Linked DNA regions of Homo sapiens: all the other regions are linked to region 3. The links are contacts of gene promoters, found by promoter capture Hi-C in blood cells and fetal thymus (Javierre and others, 2016). All regions are on one chromosome and are shown on one strand. Each heading gives the region's core, a stretch centred on a gene start or on the middle of the fragment in contact. The rest is flanking DNA. Distances are from core to core; before and after follow the strand shown. Region 1 overlaps NKD1 (NKD inhibitor of Wnt signaling pathway 1). Region 2 has its middle 12 kb from the start of BRD7. Region 3 holds the start of HEATR3 (HEAT repeat containing 3).

The links. The method cuts DNA at HindIII sites, captures the fragments that hold promoters and counts their contacts. A CHiCAGO score of 5 or more calls a contact.
Region 1: a fragment that was not itself captured here is called in contact with the fragment with the promoter of HEATR3 in region 3 in 4 of 17 cell types (total CD4 T cells, activated CD4 T cells, naive CD4 T cells and 1 more); the score reaches 6.3 in total CD4 T cells.
Region 2: a contact is called between a fragment that was not itself captured here and the fragment with the promoter of HEATR3 in region 3, in 1 of 17 cell types (neutrophils). The highest score is 6.4, in neutrophils.

Annotation. Positions count from the first base shown.
Region 1 is chr16:50,557,632-50,561,743 of GRCh38, reverse strand. The region is part of intron 3 of NKD1 (NKD inhibitor of Wnt signaling pathway 1); the gene reads right to left. Among named protein-coding and RNA genes, the nearest start is that of NKD1, 11 kb to the right of the region's middle. The HindIII fragment of the contact is 5,014 bases long and covers 1-4,112 here.
Region 2 is chr16:50,379,484-50,383,285 of GRCh38, reverse strand. No RefSeq gene overlaps it. Among named protein-coding and RNA genes, the nearest start is that of BRD7, 12 kb to the right of the region's middle. The HindIII fragment of the contact is 2,544 bases long and covers 466-3,009 here.
Region 3 is chr16:50,063,069-50,067,248 of GRCh38, reverse strand. HEATR3 (HEAT repeat containing 3) reads right to left here and starts at 1,279. Exons shown (of 15, transcript NM_182922.4): 1 at 980-1,279; 2 at 710-882. The coding sequence starts at 1,117. It overlaps HEATR3-AS1 (HEATR3 antisense RNA 1), which reads left to right and starts at 925. Exons shown (of 3, transcript NR_186390.1): 1 at 925-1,196; 2 at 2,442-2,558. RefSeq lists silencers at 557-816, 897-946, 1,277-1,326 and an enhancer at 1,177-1,471. The HindIII fragment of the contact is 22,013 bases long and covers 1-4,180 here.

The DNA.
Region 1 (4,112 bases), core at 474-2,973, 490 kb before region 3:
GAATGTGTTGTTGCTAATTCCAGGCCTAAACCTTAAAGAGTCCTGGCCGTTTTTGCTTCTATACTCTTGGGAAAGACAGCCACCATGTAAATCTGATTACCCTGAGACTGCCATACTGTGAGGAAGCCCAAGCTACTCATGAGGTGAGGCCAACTAGAAGAGAACTGAAGCCCCAGACATGTCACTTATTTGGAGCTGCTGCAGTCAGACCCTTGCTGTTAGAGCCACCCTAACTGTGCTACATGGAGCCACAGACAAGTTGACCCTCCCAGGCTTGGTCCAAAGTGCATACTCTTAAGCAAGTCACAAAGTGATCAAGTCACTAATCTTTGGACTTTTTTTTTTTTTTTACAGCAGTAGAAACAAAGCCTTCTCCTTTCCTTTAATGCATTTTTGAGAGGAGGAAGCAGAAGGCAGGAGAGGTCATAATAGATACCTCATAGCTAAGCTGGAGGCACCCCCAGGCTCAGGGTTCCCAGCGCAGCATTGTGTCCAACCCCTGATGACTGAGCCATGTCTGTGTTTCTCCTGGGATGAAGCTGCTGCTGTTGGCTTCTCAGGGGAGAAGCCATGGGCCCCCCCTCCATGGGACTGCTCATCCTCTTCATTCCCTAAGCAAAGGGAGTGAGCCAGCAGCAAGCACCCACAGCATCCCTGGGAGCACTGACCCAGGCCCAAAAGTCAACAAACCAAACAGCTCAGAAAGCACAGAGAGGTCAGGAAAGTTGCCCTAGGTCACACTGCTAGTGAGAAGTAGAGCCAGGGCTCAAAACCAGGCATTCAGGCTCAGGGCCTGCACCAGTGACCCACACCAGCGTTTTTCTAATACTCTGATTATGACCTATAGTAAGAATTATATTTTACAATATGCCTCTGCTGTAGATAGATAGATAGATAGATAGATAGATAGATAGATAGATGGGTTTGGGTATAGGTGTGTGTAAAGTGTGTGTATACATTTTTTTTAACTAGAACAAAAAATTACACAAAACAATATTTACTCTTACTATATATAATGTTTTCTCATATTTTTACTCTATTTCATTTTGGTCACTAAATTGATGTCATGAACCATGAATGGGGCTGAGACATACAGTTGAAAAAAAAAAAAAAACTCGCCTAAACTGATTTAAGATGGCTCTAAAATCACACTGAGTGATCTGAATTTGAATCTTGCTGAAGCAAGATTCCACTTCCAAGTTAAGTGACCTTGGGCAATATGGTTGACTTCTTTAAAGCCTCAGTTTCCCTATGGGTAAGATGGGCATAATAATAACAGCGGCCTCATAACAGTGCTCTGAGAATCCAGCACTATGAACAGTGCTTGGCCCAGAGCCTGGCACACAGCAGACACGCAGCAAGCAGCAGCTACGCTGTTACCACCTCCTCCTCGGGCTGCAGCTCCCAGACTCAGCACGGGGCTATGCACACAGTGGGCAGCTCGCGGGCACACTGAGCCTGCAGCCACTGAGAAAGCAGGCACGTGCCCAGGACCAGCTGAGGCAGTGGGTGCCTTTGGACTTTCCAGGGCAGGGAGGAAGCAGAGAAAGTCCCCAGTGCCCGCTGAAAAGGCAACTTTGTTCCTGGATTATAGTAGTTCTCTTCAATCATCTTTTTGCCTTTGAAGGGGGAAAGAAGGGTAAAACAACAAAGTCAGGGTCAAAAACTGTCCTGGAACAAGGCTCCCTCTGGAAACCAGGCATGGAATGGGCATGGCACCACACACCAGCACCCCCAAACCCACTCACTGGAGCCACCGCAAGCCGAGGCCTCTGAGTGAGGGGCCCACCAGCCCACGCAGCCTTCTGAAGTTAGAAAAACATCCTCCGGCCTGAGCCCATTAGGGAGGCTGTGGCCTGAGGGAAGACAGCCCCATCCTGCTAACAGGGTCCTTTTATGCTCTGCCTCTCCCCTCCTCAGGACCCCAGCTCTATGCTCAAGGCCAGAAGGCTTGGGCAGCCCAGCAGGCCAGCCAATCCGCTCCAGGGTGACACTATTTCTTGTGACTGAGAGGTTCTCCTCCCTACCTCTTCCAACCTGACCAGAAAGCTGGAGTCCACAGACACCAGTAACACTTCATGGAAGACTTGCGGCAAGGAGACAAGGCCTCATGACGGGATGCAACATACAGTGGTACCACCCAGCCCAGCAGGCACTGCCCACTCCCTGCTGCTGCACCACATAGTTCTGCTCTAACACCTCAGAGACTGGAATGTGGTTCCAAGTCAGACACCGAGAAGGAGGCTGAACACTTTCTCTGTGCACCAACCCTGCATGCCTCTTGCCCTTTGCACATCCCGTGCCTTCTGCCTGGAATATTTTTAATAAACCTTTCCCCACCTAGCTATTTCCTATTTATTCTTTGGGTCTTAACGACTTACGCATCACTCCCTAATCTGAAGTAGAATCCTCCGTTATTCTCCTTCCCCATCCTTTTCCTTCACTGCACTTAGCACACTGGTACCACACTGAGCACACATCCAGGTGATCACTAGCAAACAACACTGGCAAGCTGCAAAAGAAGGGGTGACATCTCCTTTATTCTTTAACTTGCTGAAATGAACCCATTTCTACCCTTAAAACAACCCAATGAGGTAGGAACCATTACTCTACCCATTCCACAGATGTGAAAACTGAGAATCAGAGATGAGCCATCACTTGGCCCAAGGCCACCGAGCTGGGGAGAAGTGCAGCTGGGACTCAGACCCAGGAAGTCTGATTCTGCAAGTTCTAAGCACACCTCTGGCACCTTCTATGGGCACATGCTGGTCTTCAGCATAAAGTCTCCCAGCCCACATCTTTGTTTTGTTGTTTGTTTGTTTGTTTGTTTGTTTGAGACAGAGTTTCACTCTTGTCACCCAGGCTGGAGTGCAATGGCACGATCTTGGCTCACTGCAACCTCCATCTCCCGGGTTCAAGGAATTCTCCTGCTTCAGCCTCCCAAGTAGCTGGGATTACAGGTGCCTGCCACCATGCCCGGCTATTTTTTTTTTCTTTCTTTTCTTTCTTTTTTTTTTTTTTTTTGTATTTTTAGCAGAGACGGGGTTTCGTCATGTTGGCCAGGCTGGTCTCAAACTCCTGACCTCAGGTGATCCACCAACCTCGGCCTCCACCAACCTCGGCCTCCCATCCCAGCCCACATCTTTACTTACCCTTCCTGTGCCTCCCACATTGCTCTCCCACCAGACTGAAATACACTGTGCACAGCTTCCTGGCAATGAGCCTTTGCTTGGCCTGCACTCTCTGCCTTGGATGCAGCCTGCATCCAGCTCTCCCTGGCTGGGCTAGTGACTCTAATTTGCTGGGCCTGCCTCCTCATCTATGCGATAGCGGAATAATACCTAAGGCAGTTGTGAGGATTCTACAAGAGAATGCATGGAAAGTATTAGGCACAATGTTGAGTCCATATGATACTCACTCGTGTGTCCTTTTATCACTAACATACTGCTTCTCTACCACCACCACCATCAGAATCTTAAAGGTCTAAATCAGCAAACACAAGCCAGTGTACTAACAGGCCAAATCCAGTCGTCTGAGTCACCCAAAGAAGGTGTTTTCTAAAAATTTTAATTGGTTAACAATAATTTTTTAAATTGGAAAAGTTTCACATAAAAATTCAGACAGCTGGATTTTCTTAATGATCAGCCCGTGTGGCAACACCAGGGCCATATTCCCACATGGCAGTGATTGGCTGGGGTTGAGTGGCACTGCCCCCTTGAGGCAGGGTGTGTGTTCCCCGGGGGCACCCCGGTTCCCACCCCTCTCAGATGTCTCCCACTGAGCCTGTGGCATTCATTCATATGACCTCTCTGGCCCCTGTAGGTCCTTAAGTTTCTAACCCCTGATCTCAGTCTTACCATTCTTCAAATCCCTACTCACATGCCCACTTCCTTCAAAAAAACCCTCCCCAACCTCCACAGCCCTGTGCTTCCCTTATGGTTTTATAACTTTAACAGTTAACTTGCACTGAGTACTTCATGCAAAGATCCAAAGTAAAATATTAGCCTATCAAATGCGGTCACATTTAAAAGAATAATCTATCATGACAAAGAATTTCGGAGGGCCAAGAAGGTTGCACTAGGAAATCCAGCAATGTAAATCAAGCATACAAA
Region 2 (3,802 bases), core at 488-2,987, 320 kb before region 3:
AGTATCTGAGCAAGAAGTCGGACTTGTTGCCCCATTCCTGGGACTCCTGAGGTCAGGAACTGTCCTGGTCACCTCTGTATGCTCTGGGAACAGGCAGTGCTCAGTTCCCTAAGCAGAGGGACTCCTCAGTAGGCACTGAATGAAGTGTGTGTGTGTGTGTGTGTGTGTGTGTGTGTGTGTGTGTGTGTCCATGCACACACAAGTCAGCCTATGTTCTTTCAGTTGCAAGGGCTAGAAATCCAGTTCAAAGTACACAAAACTCAGAGGGGGAATTTATTCAACCCTTGGATTGAAAAGTGTAAGAGGTTGATGAACTTCAGGCTCAGCTGGATCCAGAGACTCAATTACTGTCACCAGGCCACTAGCTCTTGGCTCTGCTTTCTCCACCATTAGCTTTATTCTCAGGCAGGGCCTCCTCTCAAGCCCCAAAAGCACCAGACTGACATACCACTGGCTCAGCAAGCTTTTCATGGAAAGGTCCCACCAAAGCCAAGCCTCAGTCCCTGCCCACCTCTGTACCAATCACCAAGCCAGGGGCTATGATATTCTCATTAACCAGATTCCAGTCACAGGCCCACCTCTGAACCAATCATTGGTCCTGGCAGCTGTGATACTCTCACTGGCAGGCCTGGGTCACATGCTCACCCCTGAACCAATCCTCACTGGCCCTCGCGGCTGTGACACTCTCATTGGCAGGCTTAGGTCATGTGGGGAGAGGAGGCTCTCTAAGTGGAAGTCAAGAGGCTGTTGCTAGAGAAAGTGTTTATTTGGTGCCCAATGGGCAGAAATAACTAGTAACATCAAGGCTTCTCTCTGCCTATGTCCCAAGATGGTCACTTGGGTCTGAAAAGCCTGAGAAACCTGCTGACGCAGAAGAGCAGCCTTGGAAACCTAGCAAAAAGGGAAGGCCTGGGACATACCAAGAGTCCAGACAACCAAAAGGCCCACAGGAGGGGTCAGCAGGACCGGGGCAGATCAGACAGGTGCCAGAGGCAGGCGACCACTCTGCACAGTTACCACCAGAGGGCAGCTGGCCAGGAGGCAGGGTAAACAGGAAGAGGTCAAGTAGCCTTGGGGAAACTCTGTACCTTGCCTGAGGCATGGCAGATAATAACACTGACTACTCACCCTTATTGAGCCTGGCCCTGTCCTAAGCATTTTTATGCATCAACTCAATGAATTATCACCAATGAGATTGGTACATTTATAACCCCATTTTACAGATGAGGAAGCCAAGGCTTTCAAGTAACGAGCCCAAAGTGTCATACGGCAGAAAGGGGGCAAGTCACGCGTCTATTCCACCAAACCCTGAGCCTCCTGAGGTTAGGGGCTGTGTCTTGTTTGTATCTGAAGTCCCTGTGGACCCTAACAATCACTGTGCTTAATGGATATCTGGTGAAGTGAAAGCCTGGGGCAGGGGGCGCTGTCACTGTGTTCTCCACCCTCCCCACCCTCCCCATCCCAGGAGGAAATTACCAGGCTCAGTTCAGGCAATACCCCTTCCAGGTGTGCTGACCTTGGAAGATGATTCTTAGACCTTGCCCTTGCTCTGTTGTAATGGACTCTCAGGCACTACAGTACTCACATCAGTAGAAGAGAGAGTTTGAGATTTTGCAAAGGCTTGACAACTCCAAAGTCTCATGGTGTAGGTCACTTATTTTTGTTTGAGGCGGTCTTGCTCTGTTGCCCAGACTGGAGCACAGTGGCACAATCTTGGCTCACTGAGACCCCCACCTCCAGGGTTCAAGCAATTCTTGTGCCTCAGCGTCCCAAGAAGCTGGGATTACAGGCATGTGCCACCATGCCTGGCTAATTTTTGTATTTTTAGTAGAGACAGAGTTTCCCCGTGTTGGCCAGGCTGATCTCCAACTCCCGGCCTCCAGTAATCCACCAACCTAGGCCTCCCAAAGTGCTGGGATTACAGGTGTGGGCCACTGCAGCCGGCCTGTAGGTCACTATTTATGCCTCTCCCAGGAGTAGCTGGCTGTGCAGTTGGGGGGAAGAGGAAGAACATATTTAATGTGAATTCATTCATCATCCTCCACTGGGCTCCCATGGTGGGCCAAATACCATGTTGAGTGCCTTGAGGGGGACAGAGGGAAGCATGACAAAACCTCCTCTCTCCAATCCCCTCCTGGGAGGAGAAATAAGTCACTGCCAGAAGGAAGAACACAGAAGGAAGTCCTGCCTTCCACAAGAGAGGACTTCAACCGTCTAATCATTTGGGCAACAAAAATGTATTAGGTACATGTCAAGTGCCAGTGAACAAAACAGAATAGACTCAGCTCTTGCCCTCAGGAAGTTCTCAGTCTTATGGGAAGGCAGACAATAGACAAATAAATACGGAATTGCAAATGTGATGTGTTTTATCAGAAACAGAAAAACCACAGGGTGCTATAAGAGAAACTAAAAGAGGTCCGGGTGCAGTGGCTCACGCCTGTAATCCCAGCACTCTGGGAGGCCGAGGCAGGTGGATAACCTGAGGTCAGGAGTTCAAGACCAGCCTGGCCAACATGGCGAAACCCCGTCTCTACCAAAAACACAAAAAATTAGCTGGGTGTGGTGGTGAGCACCTGTAATCTCAGCTACTCGGGAGGCTGGGGCAGGAGAATCCCTTGAAACTAGGAAGTGGAGGTTGCAGTGATCTGAGATCTCGCACCTGAACTCCAGCCTGGGCGACAAAAGCAAAACTCCATCTCAAAATATATATATAAATAAAGACAGAAACTAAAAGGGGACTTGTTGGAGCAGTTTAGGGTTGCCTTTCTGAGGTGGTGAGAGATGAGAAGAGGCCAGCCATATGAAGAGTGTGGGAACAGCATTCCAGAATAAGGGAATAGCATGTGTGAAAGGCCTGCATGGAGGAAGAGTGTGGCATGTTCAAGGGACTAAGATTAGGCAAATTATGTCTGGAGATTAGTGGGTAGAAGTAGGCAGTGGCAGAAATCGGGGTCAGAGAAGAGCACGAGGTCAGGTTACACTGAGCCTTGTAGGCTTAGGAAAAAAGCTTGGGCTTGATCTGAGATGGGAGACCCCCCAAAGGGTTATGAACAGGACGATGATGTGGCCTAATCCAATCTATAATCTATGTTTTTGTTTTTATTTTTGTAACGTACCACCACCCACAGAAAAATCCATGTGTTTTGTTTTTAACAGAGATGGGGTTCTCACTATCTTGCCCAGGTTGGTCTCAAACTCCTGGTCCTCCTACCTTGGCCTCCCAAAGTGCTGGGATTACAGGTGTGAGCCACTGCCCCTGGCCCGGAAATCTGTGTATTTCAAAGTCACTCTGGCTGTGGTGGGGAAAGTGGATTTATGGCGGAGCAGAGTGGAAGCCAGGAAATATGGCAGCTCTTGCTGAGTCAATAGCCAGGGTGCACAGATGAGGGGCTATTCCTTCCTCATAGCGGGCTCTGGGGAGGCTTTCAGAAGCAGATTTTACCCCAGGTGAAAGAGGGACAGGCAGGCAGGAAGGAGAAGGCTGTATTCCCCACTCCACTCACTTTTCTCCTAAATAAAGGGGAGAAAAAAGTTTTTCCTTTTTCTGCCTCAGAAACTATAAAGAGATGCCCATTCATTGGTGCCTTCCAAAATGCCTATGTGTAGACTTAAACAACAATAACAACAGAACATCAGCAGTTCTGAGTGCAAATAATTCAATGATGTTGTAAAATCTGGCATAAATAGATCTGGCTGAGCCTCACAACTTTTCTTCCGGGGCTGACAATGTCAGCAACTCCAAGTCTGAACCCCTACTGGCTCTGAAAGGCAAGATCACAGTAGAGAGAGGAGGAGAAAACGC
Region 3 (4,180 bases), core at 30-2,529:
TGAGTAGCTGGGATTACAGGCACCCACCACCATGCCCGACTAATTGTTTATAATTTTTCTACAGACGGGGTCTTGCTATGTTGCCCAGGTTGGCCTTGGACTCCTGGCCTCCAGTGATCCTCCTTCCTTGGCCTCCCAAAGCAATGGGATTACAGGTGTGTGCCACCGCGCCCGGCCCAAGAGCACCCAATTCAAACTTCCCACCCCCAACTCATCATCATCTCGTTTTCCCACAGCAATTCTCACTATTTAATATTATGTTTTACCTTTTTACTAGCTTCCTGTCTGTCTCCCCATCAACATGACTTGTGCCAAGACAGGGATCTTGGCTGTCAACAGATCTCGCTCAAAAGTCTTGGCTGCTCAAAGTCCCCTGCATCTAGAACGATTCCTGACACATGAACTGAAGAGTTCATCCAAGCAAGGGACCCTAAGGAGGGCTTTTGGAGAGTGTAAAACGTGCGCAAGGCGTGAGGGCAGGACGCCTGAGCAGGTGGACGCTGCAGGTGAAGCAGCCAGGTGGACAGATGAGATGCGGGGATACTGGGCTTCTCCGGAGCCTGGAGACTGGCTTCAAATCTCTGCAAACGGGAGACCGGGCCAGTGCCTGATGGCACACAGAAGGCGCTGGGTGACCGCTGCGACCGCCCGCAGCCCAGACGCGGGGGAGGCCAGCGGTGGGCACCGCCCCGCACCCTTCCTGGCTCACCTCAGCGCGCCGGCTGCAGTCTCCCTGACGGCCAGGCTGGGGTCTAGCAGCAGCGGCCCGAGGCGGCGCACGGCGTCTCGTCGCGCCAGGCCCGGGAGTGCCGGCCGCTGCTGCACCAGCCGGGCCAGCCCTGCGCAGGCGCACTCGCGGACCTCGGCGCTCGGGTGCTGGAGCTGCGGATGAGAGCGAAAAGGGTCAGAAGGCGCGCAATGCGCACGCGCGCGGGGCAACCTCGTCTCGCCTCCCGGCCCGACGGAGCCCTCGCCTCACCTTTTCCAGCAGCTCCGCCGCCGGCCCGTCGTCCTCCTCGCCTCCGGTCCCATTCGCCGCCGCAGCCGCCTCGGCCTGACAGTCGCCCGTAGGGGAGAACTGAGGTCGCTTGAAGCGCTTCGTCCGGCTCTTGCCCATGGTGACGTGCGCTGGGCGGACAGACCACCGAGAGAGGAGGGCAACAGCAGGCGGTGGAGGCTGCCGCGCCGTTAACAAGGTCCGTTGCTGCTGCTCAGCTGGGCCGGCTGACGGCTGCAGCACACATGGGCAAGCCGTGCGCAGGCGCACGGCGCGTCGTCTGCCGGGTCGGGGTTGGGGCGGGGCGGGGTGGGGGGAACTGGCGCACGGAGCGCGCAGGCGTGGAAGAGGGCATAGGCGGGGCCAGCTTCGGCAAAGGGGCGGAGCCTTGTGGGTTTACCGGGTAAGTAGGAGGTTGGACTAGAATAGTAACGCCGACCCGGGCGAGAGGATCACTTGAGGCCAGAAGTTCGAGACCATCTTGGGCAACATAGGAAAACACTCCACTCCCTGTCCTCCCCACCAAAAAAATTAAAAATTATCTGGGCATAGTGGCGTGTGTGTGTAGTCCCAGCTACTTGGGACGTTGAAGCCGGAGGATCACTTGACCCCAGGAGTTTGAGGCTGAGGTGAGCCGTGATCCTGCTACTGCACTCCATCCTGGGCGACAGAGCGAGACCCTGTCTCAATCAATCAATCAAGCAACCAATAAGTTAGTAACACCGGCTACAAATAATCAAATGTGATTAAGAATACCTAACTTGCAAGGTTATTGTAAGTTCTGTAAAGTTCATAAAGTTCTGTAAAGTGCCTAACACCAAGCCTGATATATAGCAGGTACTCAAAAAGCATTAACCACGATTTTATTTTGTGTCCCCAGCACCTCCCATAGCTCCTGTCGTAGACAGAGACTAGTTAATGTTTTGGAACGAATGTGTGTCTATATTTGATAAAACAGAATCGCTTAAGAACCTAATCTCCCTGCCTTAGTTTCCTCATCAGTGAAGTGGGGACATCGATAGTATATACCTCATGGAGTTGTTACGAAGACTAAATGTGTTCATATGTTTAAGGTGCTAAGAACAGAGACTGGCAGATACTAAGCACTATGTAAATGTTTGGAAACGTATTTAACAAAGAGATTCTTTTGCAGATATTTGTTGAGTACTAGGTACAGTGCTGGGCATTGGAATAAAGCAGTAATCAAGACAGTTTGGTTCCTGTCCTCTCTCCCTGTCCTTATGGAATTTACAGTCCAGGGAGAGATCTGTTGAATATATAATTATATGAATAACTTTGGTTATAATTGTGGTAAATACTAAGCAGAGGGAAAAGTACAGGAGAATCTTAGGTGGTCTTTATAATTAGACATGTAACGAGTGAGTACTCAATATATGCATAGCTTTGGGTCAATTTTCTTTTTTTCTTTTTGTTTTTGAAACAGAGTCTCACTCTGCTGTCCAGGCTGGAGTGCAATGGTGCGATCTCGGCTTATTGTAACCTCTGCCTTGGAGTTCAAGCAGTCCTCCTGCCTTAGCCTCCTAAGTAGCTGAGATTACAGGTATGTGCCACCATGCCCAGCTATTTTTTTTTTATTATTATTTTTAGGAGAGACGGGGTTTTACCACGTTGGTCAGGCTGGTCTCGAACTCTTGATCTCAAATGATCTGCCTGCCTCAGCCTCCCAAAGTGCTAGTATTACAGGTATGAGCCACCACGCCCAGGCTCAGGTCAACATTCTACTGGAGAAAATTTCCATTCCATGGTAACCCTACTGTCAAAGAGTTGACTGTCCAGTAAGGGAAATTAATTACTATGGCAAATTTTAGAGAGTAACAGAAGTGTAGCTCATGTTGCATTTGGGCCTATCAAAGATCAATCTTGGGCTGGGCACTGTGGCTCACACCTGTAATCCCACCACTTTGGGAAGCCAAGGTGAGCAGATCACCTGAGGTCTGGAGTTCAAGACCAGCCTGGCCAACATAGCGAAACCCCATCTCTACTAAAAATACAAAAATTAGCCAGGCATGGTGGCATGTGCCTGTAGTCCCAGCTACTTGGAGGCTGAGCCAGGAGAATCTCTTGAACCTGGGAGGCAAAGGTTGCAGTGAGCCGAGATCACGCCACTGCACTCCAGCTTGGGTGACAGAGCGAGACTCCGTCTCAAAAAAAAAAAAAAAAAAAAAATCAACCTTGGAGCCACTAAATATATGTTGGTGGGTTTTACTTCCTGTATATTTTATCAGGCCATCGATCTGCCTGCCACCCACCTAGTCCAGGCAACCGTCTTTTTGTTGTTGTTTTTTTTGAGATGGAGTCTCTTTCTCGTTGCTCAGGCTGGAGTGCAATGGCATGATCTCGGCTCACTGAAACCTCTGCCTCTTGGGTTCAAGTGATTTTCCTGCCTCAGCCTCCTGAGTAGCTGGGATTACAGGTGCATGCCACCACGCCCAGCTAAATTGTATTTTTAGTAGAGATGGGGTTTCACCATGTTGGCCAGGCTAGTCTCGAACTCCTAACCTCAGGTGATCCACCAGTCTCGGCTTCCCAAAGTGCTGGGATTACAGGCGTTATCTACCACGCCTGGCCTAGGCTACTGTCTTTTATCTTGAGCACGTGGCTCTCTGGTCTCTCCATTTCCACCCTGCCTGTCCCCCATCCATTGAGCAGCTAGAGTGATCTCAAAATATCCCTCCACCTTTCTCCTTATATTGTATTCACTTCCTCGCTTAAAACTTTTCAGTGGCTGCCGGGCATGGTGACTCACGCCTGTAATCCCAGCACTTTGGGAGGCTGAGGCGGGTAGATCACTGAGGTCATGAGTTCAAGACCGGCCTGGCCAACATGGTGAAACCATGTATGTACTAAAAATACAAAAATTAGCTGGGTGTGGTGGCACGTACCTGTAATCCCAGCTACTCAGGAGGCTGAGGCAGGAGAATCACTTGAACCCAGGAGGCAGAGGTTGCAGTGAGCCCAGATCACACCACTGGTCTCCAGCCTGGGTGACAAAGCAAGACTCCGTCTCAGAAGAAAAAACCAAAGAAAACAAAAAACTTTTCAGTGGCTTCCCTTTCTCTTTGGATAAAGATCAAAATCTTACCAGGGCTGCAGGGTTTCACCCCGGCCCCCAGCCTCACCTCTTCATTTTGCTCTTTTAGCCAACATCTATGGGGCCTCAGG